2 separate regions of the Homo sapiens genome follow, and region 1 is linked to region 2. Evidence: promoter capture Hi-C in human tissues and cell types (Jung and others, 2019). All regions are on one chromosome and are shown on one strand. Each heading gives the region's core, a stretch centred on a gene start or on the middle of the fragment in contact. The rest is flanking DNA. Distances are from core to core; before and after follow the strand shown. Region 1 overlaps EFCAB7 (EF-hand calcium binding domain 7). Region 2 holds the start of DOCK7 (dedicator of cytokinesis 7).

Evidence for each region. Contacts are between HindIII fragments. The study calls those that stand out against the background at their distance.
Region 1: a fragment that was not itself captured here is called in contact with the fragment with the promoter of DOCK7 in region 2 in 1 of the 25 tissues and cell types used here (hippocampus).

Annotation. Positions count from the first base shown.
Region 1 is chr1:63,526,679-63,533,098 of GRCh38, forward strand. It overlaps EFCAB7 (EF-hand calcium binding domain 7), which reads left to right. Exons shown (of 14, transcript NM_032437.4): 3 at 5,142-5,353; 4 at 5,992-6,078. It also overlaps a transcript of ITGB3BP not described here and the pseudogene RN7SL488P. Among named protein-coding and RNA genes, the nearest start is that of EFCAB7, 6.4 kb to the left of the region's middle. The HindIII fragment of the contact is 6,676 bases long and covers 1,601-6,420 here.
Region 2 is chr1:62,686,661-62,693,324 of GRCh38, forward strand. DOCK7 (dedicator of cytokinesis 7) reads right to left here and starts at 1,726. Exons shown (of 50, transcript NM_001367561.1): 1 at 1,567-1,726. The coding sequence starts at 1,604. It overlaps DOCK7-DT (DOCK7 divergent transcript), which reads left to right and starts at 1,822. Exons shown (of 2, transcript NR_185999.1): 1 at 1,822-1,992. RefSeq lists a silencer at 1,079-1,828 and an enhancer at 2,838-3,132. The HindIII fragment of the contact is 7,491 bases long and covers 1-6,664 here.

The sequences.
Region 1 (6,420 bases), core at 3,689-6,188, 840 kb after region 2:
AATTTTAAAATTACTAAAATGCTCTATTTTGAATTTTAAGTATTTGTGTTTAATTCATATACATTAAATGTTTAGGCAGACATCCAATAAATTTTTTTTTTTTTGAGACGGAGTCTTGCTCTGTCTTCCAGGCTGGAGTGCAGTGGCGCGATCTTGATTCACTGCAGCCTCTGCCTCCTGGGTTCCAGCGATTCTCCTGCCTCAGCCTCCTGGGTAGCTGAGATTACAGTTGCACGCCACCATGCCTGGCTAATTTTTGTATTTTTAGTAGAGACGGGGTTTTGCCATGTTGGCCAGGCTGGTCTCGAGCTCCTGACCTCAGGTGATCTGCCTGCCTCGGCCTCCCAAAGTGCTGGCATTATAGGCGTGAGCCACCACGCCTGGCCAATAAATTAAAATTACTTCTAATTTGCCATTATTTCTAAAATAATCCGAGTTTTTTTTTGTTACTGTTTTGAAAATATACTAAGAGAAGGAATCTGCTAAGTTTAAAAGTTTAACATGCCTTCCACTACTATGGCATTTAGTTTGTGAATCAATGTGTATGTATTACTAAGGTGCTATCAATCTTATGAAATTATCTGGGAGGATAACTATACAGTGTTTGTCTCTTCAGTGTTATATACACTTTTGGTTTTAGGGTGGAATACTCTCTTAACGTTGTAATAATTGATTTTAGATAAACTATTTTTTAAAAAGGAGTAACATGAACTAGAGCTGCTGCTTCTTGCTACACCTTTCATCTATATCCTTCTGCCACTTATGTGCATTTCCATTTTAAGGTCAGAGACAGCGGTAGCATTACTATAGCTTTAAGTTCCTTTTTTGTCAATTTATAAATAATACAGGATTATAGATGCATGTCAGAACTTTAAAGTAAACCCTGGCAAAAGATCCATATCATGGTGTCAAAATTTAAATATCTACAGCTACGTGATATTTTTACTATCATCAAACTTAATCATTAGATCCAGCTAATTCTAAACCTAGAGATTAAAGTTAGTAGGAAATAGATTGTATCAATTTCTTAGCTATGGGGACATCTGCTTACTGAGTACATGTTTTGGCATAATTAATTTTATTCTGAGAAAGTTGTTCTTGTCTAATTACCAGTACATTTTTTAAAACAATATTTTCTTTGTTACTAAAGATAGCAGCAAGCATATGCTAAGCTACCACTTGTGAGAAAAAGTTACATACCTTTTTTCTCAAAACTGAACAGAAGATATAATTTTCTTTCATGTGGACTTCAAATGCTGGCAAGGATGTGGAGAAAAGGGAACCCTCTTACACTGTTGGTAGGAATGTATATTAGTACAACCACTGTGGAGAACAGTTTGGAGGCTTCTCAAAAAACTAAAAATACAGCTACCATAGGATCTAGCATCCTACTGCTTGGTATATATCCAAAAGGAAATCAGCATATTGAAGAGATATCTGCACTCCCATGTTTACTGCAGCACTATTCACAATAGCCCAAATTTGGAAGCAACGTAAGAGTTCATCAATAGATGAATGGATAAAAATAAAAAAAGTGGTACATATACACAGTGGAGTACCATTCAGCTATCATAAAAAAGAATGAGATCCTGTCATTTGCAATAACATGGATAGAACTGGAGGTCATCATGTTAAGTGAAATAAGCCTGGCACAGAAAGGCAAACATCACACATTCTTTCTTATCTGTGGGAGCTAAAAATTAAAACAATTGAACTCATGGAGATAGAGAGTAAAATGATGGTTACCAGAGGCTGAGAAAGGTAGTGGGGGTAGGGGGAGAAAATAGAAAATAGAAAAATAGAAAGAATAAGACCTAGTATTTAGCTAGCACAACAGGGTGACACTAGTAAAAAAAATCATTTAAGTGTACATTTTAAAATAATTAGAGTATAATTGGATTGTTTGAAACAAAGGATAAATGCTTGAGGCAACAGATACCCTATTTACCCTGATGTAATTATTGCATACCTGTATCAAAAAATCTCATATTATACACCTACTATGTATCTCCAAAAATTAAAGATTTAAAAAAAAGAACCTTAGAAAAAAGGCACTTTAGGCTTAACAATAAGGAAGAAATTTTGCAGGAAATTTTATATAATATTCATTGTCATAAAAATAATTTAGTAGTTGTGTAAATGTGTTCTGTATATGTACCATGATTCAGTTAACCACTCCTTGATTCTTTGAACATTGTTTCCTTTATTATTAGTAGCAGTAGTGTAGCAATATGATAAACATCTTTGCACACTAAGCCTTTTTAAAATAAAAATATTTTAGAGGCAAAAAAAAAATTACAACTTCATTTACATCTACTTGTATTCCCAGCTTTTAAAGGGTAGGAGCTGGCTGGGGTTGGAATCCTAAAACACATATTGCCATTTCTTTGATTCTGTAAACAGCTGAATTAAGGAATAGTTCATTTACACACTAGGCAAAATACTTACTTACCTGTTGTTGCTAGGGCAGCATGGTAATCAGGGCTTTTGTCGACATCCAAAATAAAACTGTGGGAATAAAAACATTTATATTATCTCCAATGCAATGAATTTCCACAAAGCCTTTATAGGTATATGGAAGATGGCGGTTACCACAACTACAACTTCTGTTAGCTCTGAAAGTCACTGGCATAATCTAGAGGAGAAGAGAATTTTATTTATGGATTTTTAATATGTTATAACCCATGAGTTATGGCCATAGATAGCAATTTTACAGTCAGATGTAGACTTCCTATTTAGATTATAAAATTTCTTGCCAGGCGCGGTGGCTCATGCCTATAATCCCAGCACTTTGGGAGGCCGAGACGTGCGGATCACCTGAGGTCAGGAGTTTGAGACCAGCCTGACCAACGTGGAGAAACCACGTCTCTACTAAAAATACAAAATTAGCTGGGGGTGGTGGTGCATGCCTGTAATCCCAGTTACTCGGGAGGCTGAGGCAGGAGAATCACTTGAACCCGGGAGGCAGAGGTTGCAGTGAGCCGAGATTACACCATTGCACTCCAGCCTGGGCAACAAGAGCCAAACTCCATCTCAAAAAATAATAATAATAATAAAATAAAATTTCTTTTTTTGAGATGCAGTCTTCCTCTGTCACCCAGGCTGGAGCACAGTGGCTCAATCTCGGCTTACTGCAGTCTCCGCCTCCCAGGTTCAAGCGATTCTCCTGCCTCAGCCTCCCAAGTAGCTGGGATTACAGGCGCAGGCCACCAGGCCCGGCTAATTTTTGTATTTTTAGTAGAGACAGGGTTTCACCATGTTGGCCAGGCTGGTCTTGAACTCCTGACCTCAGGTGACCTGCCCACCTCGGCCACCCAAAGTATAATTGTAAACCCAAATTACAGGTGTGAGCCACCACGCCAGTCTAGAATATAAAATTTCTTTGGAACTAAAAAGTTTGTATTGATGAACAAAAATCACCCTATACTATACTTGTGCACAATAATGTTCAATATAACTGACTCACTTATATCTGTATTTATTACCCTGATCTGGTTTCTATTTCCATGAGGATATTTCTTTAGTGAAATTGTTTTATACTTACTGGTCCTTATTACATTAAATTGTACAATATCCAGATTATCATTTTTTGATGCTGATTGGTGATGCGCAGATCTTGTGAATTTCTATAAAGATAGTTGGAACTATCCAATATAAGATTTTGTAATAGAATTTGGCAGTACAATTCAGGACAATTGTATCTTTTAAAATTATGTTAATTCCTTCTGTGGTGCTTAGGAAATTTATCATTGGTTCATTTTAGAAAATGTTATATTTCAGTATGCAGAGATTTATTTGCAAATTACCAAGTTACTTCTATTCAACTGTTCAAAATATCTGCAGTTGCTTTAACCATTTTATTTTAGAGTGATATGACATACATAAATATACAAAGCTTTTCTCACATGTACTTCTTTGCTCTTCATAGATAGAAGGATATGGTTAAAAATGAAGAGTAGTTTGACCATAGCATCTCTATAATAATCTTCTCTCACAGTATATTGACATTCTTGATTTTTAGCAGGACCATGCCTGCAAAGGGATACTTTATGTGCATATATTTGACATTTGGAACATGATTAATGTTTTTGAAAGCTTAGTACCTAGCAAAGATGAACATTTTAGATATCGTGCCTTATTGACATTGGTATTCTTAAATGAATGATTTTCTCATTTCATTAAGATATTTGTTTTTTAAATTCACACATTGTATGTATTTATGGGGTACAATTTGACATTTCAATACATTTATATGTTGTATAATGATCAAATCAAGGTAGTTAGTATATCCGTCGCTGCATGCATTTATCTTTTCTTTGTGGTGAGACCATTCAAAAGCCTCTCTTCTAGCTGTTTTGTAATATACAGTACCTTAATGCTAACTATAGTCACCATACTGTGCAATAGAATAGCAGAACCTATTTCCCACTATCTGATTGTAACTTTGTACCCATTGACCAACCTCTCCCCATCCTCCCCTACCCCCAGAGTACTTAGATAGTACTTAAGTTCCCCTTCCCAGTCTCTGGTAACCACTGATCTATTCTCTACTTCTAGGATATTAACTTTTTTTTTAAGATTCCACACAAGTGAGATACGCTGTATTTGTCTTCAGCGTCTAGCTTATTTCACTTAACATGTTGTCCTCCAGGTTCATCCATGTTGTTGCAGATGACAGGATTTCCTCCTTCTTTATGGCTGAATAGTCATTAAGGTATTTATTTAGCCAGAAAAAGTACTAATTTATACTTTTTGTGTTATCCTTTTGTCCCCCAAACAATTAAGTGGATGGTTGTTTTTAATCTTGTATTTCCTTTAGAAGCTTTTAGAAGCTCTTAAGTAATCAGATATTGTTAGTTATTTAAACCATGTAGGTTGAGAACCAAACTGTCAGAATAAGGAAAATCTATTTAATTCTGGTATTAATAATTAAAGAATGTTTAGGTGGTGGCATAAATATTTTTGTTTTTCAAAGTCAGGCCTATCTTGGTATCACTAGATAAGTCAACACCAAAGTAATGTACTGGTATATGTATAGTGTTTTGTAAATATCATAATACATAATGATTTGAAGAAAAAAATGCGCTTAAGTACAAATTCCAGGTGTTACAATCACAAATAATACTTGTCTTGTTGGGCAGCTCTTCAGCATGCAGGAAGAAATCCATCCCAAAAGACCATTAATAAGTATTGGACTCCTCAAACTGCCAAACTGAATTTTGATGATTTTTGTATAATTTTAAGGAAGGAAAAACCTACTTCAAAAGCAGAACTACTAAAATCATTTAAGCAATTAGATGTAAATGATGATGGCTGTATTTTACACACTGACCTTTATAAATTTCTAACAAAGGTAAGATCTGTAAAACTGTTTTGTAATGTGCATATTTTCTAAAACAGCTTGGAATCTAGCTTTGACTACCAAAGTCCACATTAAAAATAAGTATTTCATTGAGAGGTTAAATGAATTACTTACATGTTATTTATAACGTACTTAGGAATCCTTCTGGATGAAATGTTCTTTGTAAATAAAAGATAAAGTATAAAATCGAGCTTATGTTACCATCCCCTTGTTCTCCTATTTAATTGGTTCCTGTTCAGAACTCTTTGAAAATCAGTGATAGTTCCATATGTGATAAGTAAAAGGAAAACCAAATATAAATGGGATTAGGAATCCATTCTGTTTTTTGATACAATGTTAGAAAATATCATTCCCCTAAACTCAATAGCAGTTATAACTGACTCTATACTATTCAATTGTTAGTTACTATTTAGTAAACTGAAATTCAGCACACTTTCACAAAATTTAATAAAATTGTGAAATTTATATAGCCGCCTCATTCTTTCTTTATATATAATACTCATGATTTATAATGAAGCAATACATTCAGACTTACTTGTGGAAAAGATTAAAATGTGCTTCCACTGTCCCCATGAATAACAAAGGAGTAATCATGTTGCTTTAAAATAAATCTTGTTTTTTTTTTTCAGAGAGGTGAGAAGATGACTCGAGAAGAAGTAAATGCCATAATAAATTTGGCTGATGTAAATGCTGATGGCAAATTTGACTACATCAAGGTACATAAGCTCACATTGATGTAAATTTACATACTGTGTTGGAAAAGTGTTTTTATTTTTCCCCAGCTTTATTAAGGTATAATTGACATTACAGTGTACATGCAATGTTTTGATATATGTATACATTGTGAAACAATTAAATCAGTTAACATGTCAACTAATTAACATGTCAGCAAATTATTTTTAAAGGGATGCATCTTTTTAATATTGGCAATGACATCCTTAAATATTGTGCATGAAATTTAATTTTTCCAGTCCCATAATTGCAATCTGATGACTACATTAAAATAATATAACCAAGTTAAAAAACATGTGTGCTCACACACACGGACAGATACACAC
Region 2 (6,664 bases), core at 476-2,975:
TTAATGTTCACAACAACACTATGAGCTGGGTCCTATTATTATTCTCATTTGCCAGACGAGGAAACGGAAATTTGGCCCAACAACTTGGCCAAAGTCCCAAGCTAGAAAATACCAATCAGGATTTGAACCCATGTCGGGGTCTGAGAGTAGAGCCCATGCTCTTAAACACTTGCTATTTTGCCCCTTCAGGAAAAAAAAAGTGCTAGAACGCTGGAAAGAAAGAAAAAAAAAAGCCTCTGCCTCGAAAGCAGCTAGGACGACAGGTGCAACACCACACCTGGCTAATTTTTTTGCAGAGATGGGGTGGGGGGGACTCGCTATGTTGCCCAGGCTGGTCTTGAACTCCTGGCCTCAAGCGATCCTCCTGCCTCGGCCTCCCAAACTGCTGGGATTACAGGCCTGAGCCACTGCATCCGGCCCAAAATTTTTAAAGAAATGTCAGCAAACTAAAAAGACTCAGAGCCACAGAACTACAACTGCCCCAAAACAAAAAAAGGTAATTTAATATGAATGCTTCTTTTCTTGGGACATCATAATTCACACAAATATGATTTTATTAAAACAAAAATGTCTACTGTCTCATACATAAGTATACTCCACAAAGAAATTCTACAAATATTAGAGTCCTCTGTCATTTAATTTTTATTTGGCGGGTGGGAGAAAGGTGGCAACCAACCACCACAAGTAGGTGAAAGGCTTTGAAACCTCCACCTCAATCACTTGCTTTACTTCAAGACTGCAATCACTTGCTTTACTTCAAGACTGCTAACATATAAAAGGATGTCAGTGTATAAAGAACACTGCCTATCATCCATCTTCTCGGGTGCTCTGAGAAACACAGGCGCACAGTTAAATTCACAGGCGAACTCAGAACAAGCTTCAGCCTGCAATCCGTCAGGGATTCGGCAGCTGCACACCGAAGGTGCAGCCCGCAGCTCTCAACTTTTCATTCTGTCCACACGTTTTCAATCCTGGACGCACAAGTCCACTTTGAACCTGGCCCGAGGGTGCAAAGAGGGTTCCTGTCAGATTTCTCAGGAAGAGAGAGACGCGTGAAGGAGGGGCGGCCTCCCACCCGCCCCGAGCCGCCGCGCGTTTCTCCTTTTGTTGGGGTGGAGGAGGGCGGACCCCGCACCCTCTAGGGGCCAAGAGGGGTGGGCGGAGAGACGGGAGGGGGCGAAACGCCGCGGCGGCCCCCGACGAGCCCGGGGGTGGGAACACAAAGAATTTGGGAAGCGGCCGACCGCCCTTCCATAAACCTCCGCAGAAGTCCAGGCCCGGGCCGCCGAGGAGCAGGAGGAGGCGGGCGCGCTGGAGTCCGCGGCCCTCTCCGCTCCCTGCCGAGGCTCAGCGGCGGGCGCGGGCTGAAGGCCGGGGTTCGAGGGCGGCGCGAGGCCTCCGCTACCCCCTCAGCCACCCCGAACCCCTTCCGCCCCGCCGCGAGCCAGGCCGCGGGATCCCGGTGCCGGCCCCGCCACACCCACCCGCCTCCTAGGCCAGGCCTGGGAGGACTCCGCGGCTCTTTCTCGGGCGGCGGCGGCGGCGCGCCCCACGCCGGATATTTACCTGCTGATCTTCTGGGCGAAGGCGCGGCGCTCGGCCATGGCTGCTGCGGCGACGGCGACGGCGGCGGCGGCTGCGGCGGGCCGGGTGCGGACCGGCGGGCGCGTGCCTCCTCGCTCGTGCTCCCTCCCTCGCGGCCTCCGCCAGTCCGGGCTCCGGACCTGGGAGGCTGGGGCTGGCGGCCGGAGCCAGGAACGAGCCCTGCCGTAATGTTCCTTAGAGGCGCGCAACGAGAAACCGCTCCTCCCCCAGCGCGTCAATCCCGGCGGGAACCCCGGCTGCGGAAGGCGGCTGCGGCCGGCGGGAGCCGAGGGGAAGAATGGAGCGCTGAGGAAGCGAGGCGCCAGCCCCAGCCGCTTCGCTGCCGCGGAGCCTGCACGACCGAGAGGTCGCGGAGAGAAGCCAGAGACAGGCCAGCGACCTGGCGAGGCAAGAAAATAAGATAACCGAACGCGTAGGGGGAGCTTGGCTTTCCCGAAATGGAAGGGAAGGAAATGAAAGGTGGGCTTTGCCGAGGGGGCTGTGCTTTAACCAAAGCCCTGGATGACTGGGTTCATGTTTCTGCAGCACCGGTCTCCGAGCTTTTTAAAGCACTTGGGTTTCTGCTTCGGCCTCATGAATGCAGCCTAACTGGAGAAACAGTGGTTTTTCTTATAGAGAAAGAGCCAGAAAATACCTTGCTCCTGCAGCGATAACAATAGTAATAGTTGACTTCTGGTGCTTAGCCAGCCACTGGATTAAAGTTTTTCAAGCACGAGCGCTTTGAAGTAGATCGTTACTATCACTATTTTAGAGGGAAGGAAATTGGCTTGGAAAAGCTAAGTGACTGGCCCCAGGTCGCACAGATGGTAAACTCTTCCACTGAGACTCAAACCCAGAGCCGGTTCTTTTCTTTGAGGACAGTTGTTTCCGTATTATTAACCCCTTTTGGATCTCTCTCTGTCTCTCATACATACATATATATATATATATATATATATATATATATATATATATATATATATATAAAATCCAGGTGAGCTCTAACGTTCACCCCCATTTTGATGTTCTGTTAAATAAGCTCTGTGTTGACCACTGAAACTGACCTTGTCCATAATAGCCTATAAAACAGAGACTAGCAGAGATTTGTTTTCATCTGTTCTGTTGTAATCCCATAATGTCTAGAATATTTGGCTCCTAATGCATATCTGTTGATACTGAAATTATGGTGACACTAAGAAAAATATCTTGGTTTCTTGTAGTACCTTTCCTCTTAAGTATTGCAAGAACTTAAAATGTGTATTTATTTATTGTTATTATTATATTCTCAGTATGTCCTGGTGGAATATGTTGGATACCTGTTTTCCTCTCTTTTACCATTGGAAAATCTGTAGCTTGGAGCCATTAGGTCACTTGCCAGAGTCACACACTGAGTCAGAGGTGAAAGCCTCAATTAGTCAGATCCATAACTTCCTGTCTAGTGCTGTAACTTCTGTGGAAGACTGTGTATTTATATAACAATGCTCATTGCAGTAACACACTGCTTTTATTTATTGATTTATTTATTTTAGACAGAATCCCCCTGTGTTGCTCAAGCATGGAATGCATAGGGCACTGCAGCCTAAAACTCCTAGGCTCAAGCAATCCTCTTGCCTCAGCCTCTGGAGGAGTAGCTAGTACCACAGGCTCTTGCCAAGGCGCCCTCCAGTAACACACTGTTTTCAGATGCTTGTTTACTAAAGGAAAAGATAGTCTATTCAAAGAGGACAGATATTTGGCTTCTACCTAAGTATAGAGCCCACCTAGGTGTTCTAAAAAACACGAAGGTGAACTAGACACAGACCTGCTCTCAGAATGTTTGAGTCCATTGGGAAAGATGAACCAGGTACTCACAGACTGTAAGTCAAGGCTATCACTGTACCTGGCTTTTAAGACCCTCTGTGATAGGAACCCAGACTTATTTTGCCACTTTCTTACTCTGTAACCTTAGGCAAGCTACTTAACTTCATCTCTAAAAGGAGGAAAATAATTATATCTACTTGAAAGGGTGTTGTGAAGATTTATTGAATTGATTAATATAAAGTTCTTAGAACAGGGCCTGGTTCATGGTAAGTACGATGTGTGTCAGCTGTTGTTATTATTATCACTGTTACTGTCATTATTCATCCTATACTTAAGCTTGTCCTGGGTGTTTGATAGTCCCTGAATTGGTTGTCTGCTCTCATACTCCCAGCCAGATGTTGCATGCCTTTATCTCTGTTCTCCAAACATCTTTTCACTACTCTCTTAGAGAACTGGCCACATTTTGCTTTGAATAGTTCTTTGTATACATGACTCACTAGTTGCCAAAGTGTCTGAAAGGACTTTGCATGTACTCTGCAGCTTACTGGAAACATTTAGAGCAGGAAGAGGACAAGCAGGATCACGCTGTAAGCAGGGTAATTCAGAGTCTGGGGAACACTCTAAGCAGGAAGGGTGACCCCCTACCTCTGGGGAAGAGCTGGCAGTCACAGACCAAGTCATGTTGGCTGGTATCCCTGCCCCACAGGGTTTCAATGTCAGGAAAAGATATGGAACGCAGCAATGGGAGTGACAGTGGAATTGCTTCAGCTGACTAGCATCCATGCTCCCTATACCACCCCCTACACACACACACACACACACACACACACACACACACACACAGGTGTCAATCCACTATACTTCTGGGGAGCTCACTCCACCACCCTCAGTTTCAAGGGTCTTTTGACCTGGGCCTCACCAAGCAAAGCAGCACACTCCTCTGGCTTCTGTAACTGATTTAGGGATAGGCTCATGAATCAAACCAAGACAATCGGGCCCAACCAGAATTAGAAATTGCATTTGGTATACCAGGGCACTCCATCTAAAGAAGGCCTACCTGAGAATGAAGCCAAGCACAGCAGAGAGGAGAGCAAAAATATTGAAAAAGACAAGTTCCTTAGAATATAGCATGACTTGAGCCTTGGACTTTGCAGTTACATGAGCTAAAAATGTGCTGGAATTTTTTTGGGGGTGTGGCTGGTTTTTCATTAGGTTTGCTTTCATTAGCAGTTCAAAGTCTTACCTGATACAGGACTTCATTCAGTTAACTAACATTCATTAAGTACTATACTAGACCCTGGAAATATAGTGGTAAATAGCGCAGTATTTCTGTCCTCAAAGAGTTTAGGGTCTGGTAGAAGAGAAAAGTAAGTAAATAGTAAGTTACATGCTGAGACAGGAAAAATTAAGGAAGCTATTGGAGTGCATATAAATTCTTGATAGCACCAGTTCTCAAATATGAGGTGTTAAAAACTGGATGGAATTTAACCCTGTCCTTAGCCCTGTTATATAACCTAGGAGAAAGGCTGGCTGCAACTCCGGGAGCATGAGTAGCCCAATTCAGAATTCAGGGCCCAAGCTCCCCACTGATGGAAAGATACAAAGAAACTACTTGCCAGAAGCCAGGACCAATTTGGCAGAGTCTACTCAAAACAGTGAGTTTTAGGTAAGAAAGCCTCAGAACAGTTTTCATTAGACATACCAGTGTACTAAGTCCCTCAAGCAGAAAACTTAGGGATATGACAGAAAAAAAAAAGTAAAGAGAAAAGAAGGTGGGAAAATTATGAGTTTTGCATTCTACCCTTTATTGAACTTGGGTCTACCCGCTTTAATGTAGCACCAAGGAGGATTGTGGAGGGGTCTGGTCAAGGGTCTAAGGCTACAGTACAAAGAAATAGAGTTTTCGGGTCATGATGGATTAAGTTCTGGCTTTGCAGGCAGAATGTGTTCTCTTTTGGGATTTGGGGGAGCATAGGGAATGGTTCCTTTTTTTCAGGCATGGGCTTTTTTTTTTTTTTGAGACGGACTCTCACTCTGTAGCTCCAGCTGGAGTGCAGTGGTGCAATCTTGGCTCACTGCAAGCTCCGCCTCCCGGGTTCACACCAGTCTCCTGCCTCAGCCTCCCGAGTAGCTGGGACTACAGGTGCCCGCCACAATGCCCGGCTAATTTTTTTTTATTTTTAGTAGCGATGGGGTTTCACTGTGTTTGCCAAGATGATCTCGATCTCCTGACCTCGTGATCCACCAGCCTCGGCCTCCCAAAGTGCTGGGATTACAGGCATGAGCCACTGCGCCCGGCCAGGCATGGGTTTTTATGAAACACCGCTGGTTTCATACAATAAGATCAACATGGAGCTTCCTTCTTTGGAAGCCTCTAGCAAGGCCAAATGAATGTGGCCCAGAGAAAGGGAGAACTGAGGCATGATATGTGGGTTTACCTCAATCCCAAACTAAAGCCTAGGAGTTGGACACTAAATCTAAGCTACAGATGCTTTTGCCTGACTTTGTCCTATGTGCTTCACTTCCTGTCAATATCTAGCAAGTGTAATTTTTGCAGGGGGAAATTAAGGGGTCCTCAACCTGGCCATACTTAACAACTAATAGCACCCACATTTACTTTGTTGTAATACTCACCACACTATTGAAGTATTGTCTGTTAATCTTTGCACCCCATCGAACTTGATCTCTTGTTCACCATTGTATTTCCAGTATCTAATACACTGCCTGGTCCATTATAATAACTTAGTAAATGTTTTTGAGTGAATAAATGCCATGAACTAAAGTATTTTTAGATCCTGCCTGTATTCATCCGTTTTCATACTGCTATAAAGAACTGCCCAAGACTAAGTAATTTGTAAAGGAAAGGGGTTTAATTGACTAACAGTTCAGCATGGCTGGGGAGGCCTCAGGAAACTTACAACCATGGTGGAAGGTGAAGGGGGAGCAAGGCAGCTTCTTCACAAAGCAGCAGGACGGAGAAGTGCCAAGCAAAGGGGGAAGAGTCCTTATAAAACCATCAGATCTCCTGAGAACTCACTCACTATCACAAAAACAGTATGGGGGAAACCGTCCCCATGATTCAATTACCTCCACCTGGTCTCTTCTTTGACACGTGGGGATTATGGGGATTACAATTCAAGATGAGATTTGGGTGGGGACACAAAGCCTAACCATATCACTGCCTTAATTTATATTTCCCCAAAAATAGAGCTTGAGGCTTGGATGCAGGTAGTTTATTAGGAAGTGATGCTAAGAAGCTGGAATGAGGAAGTGGAGAGAG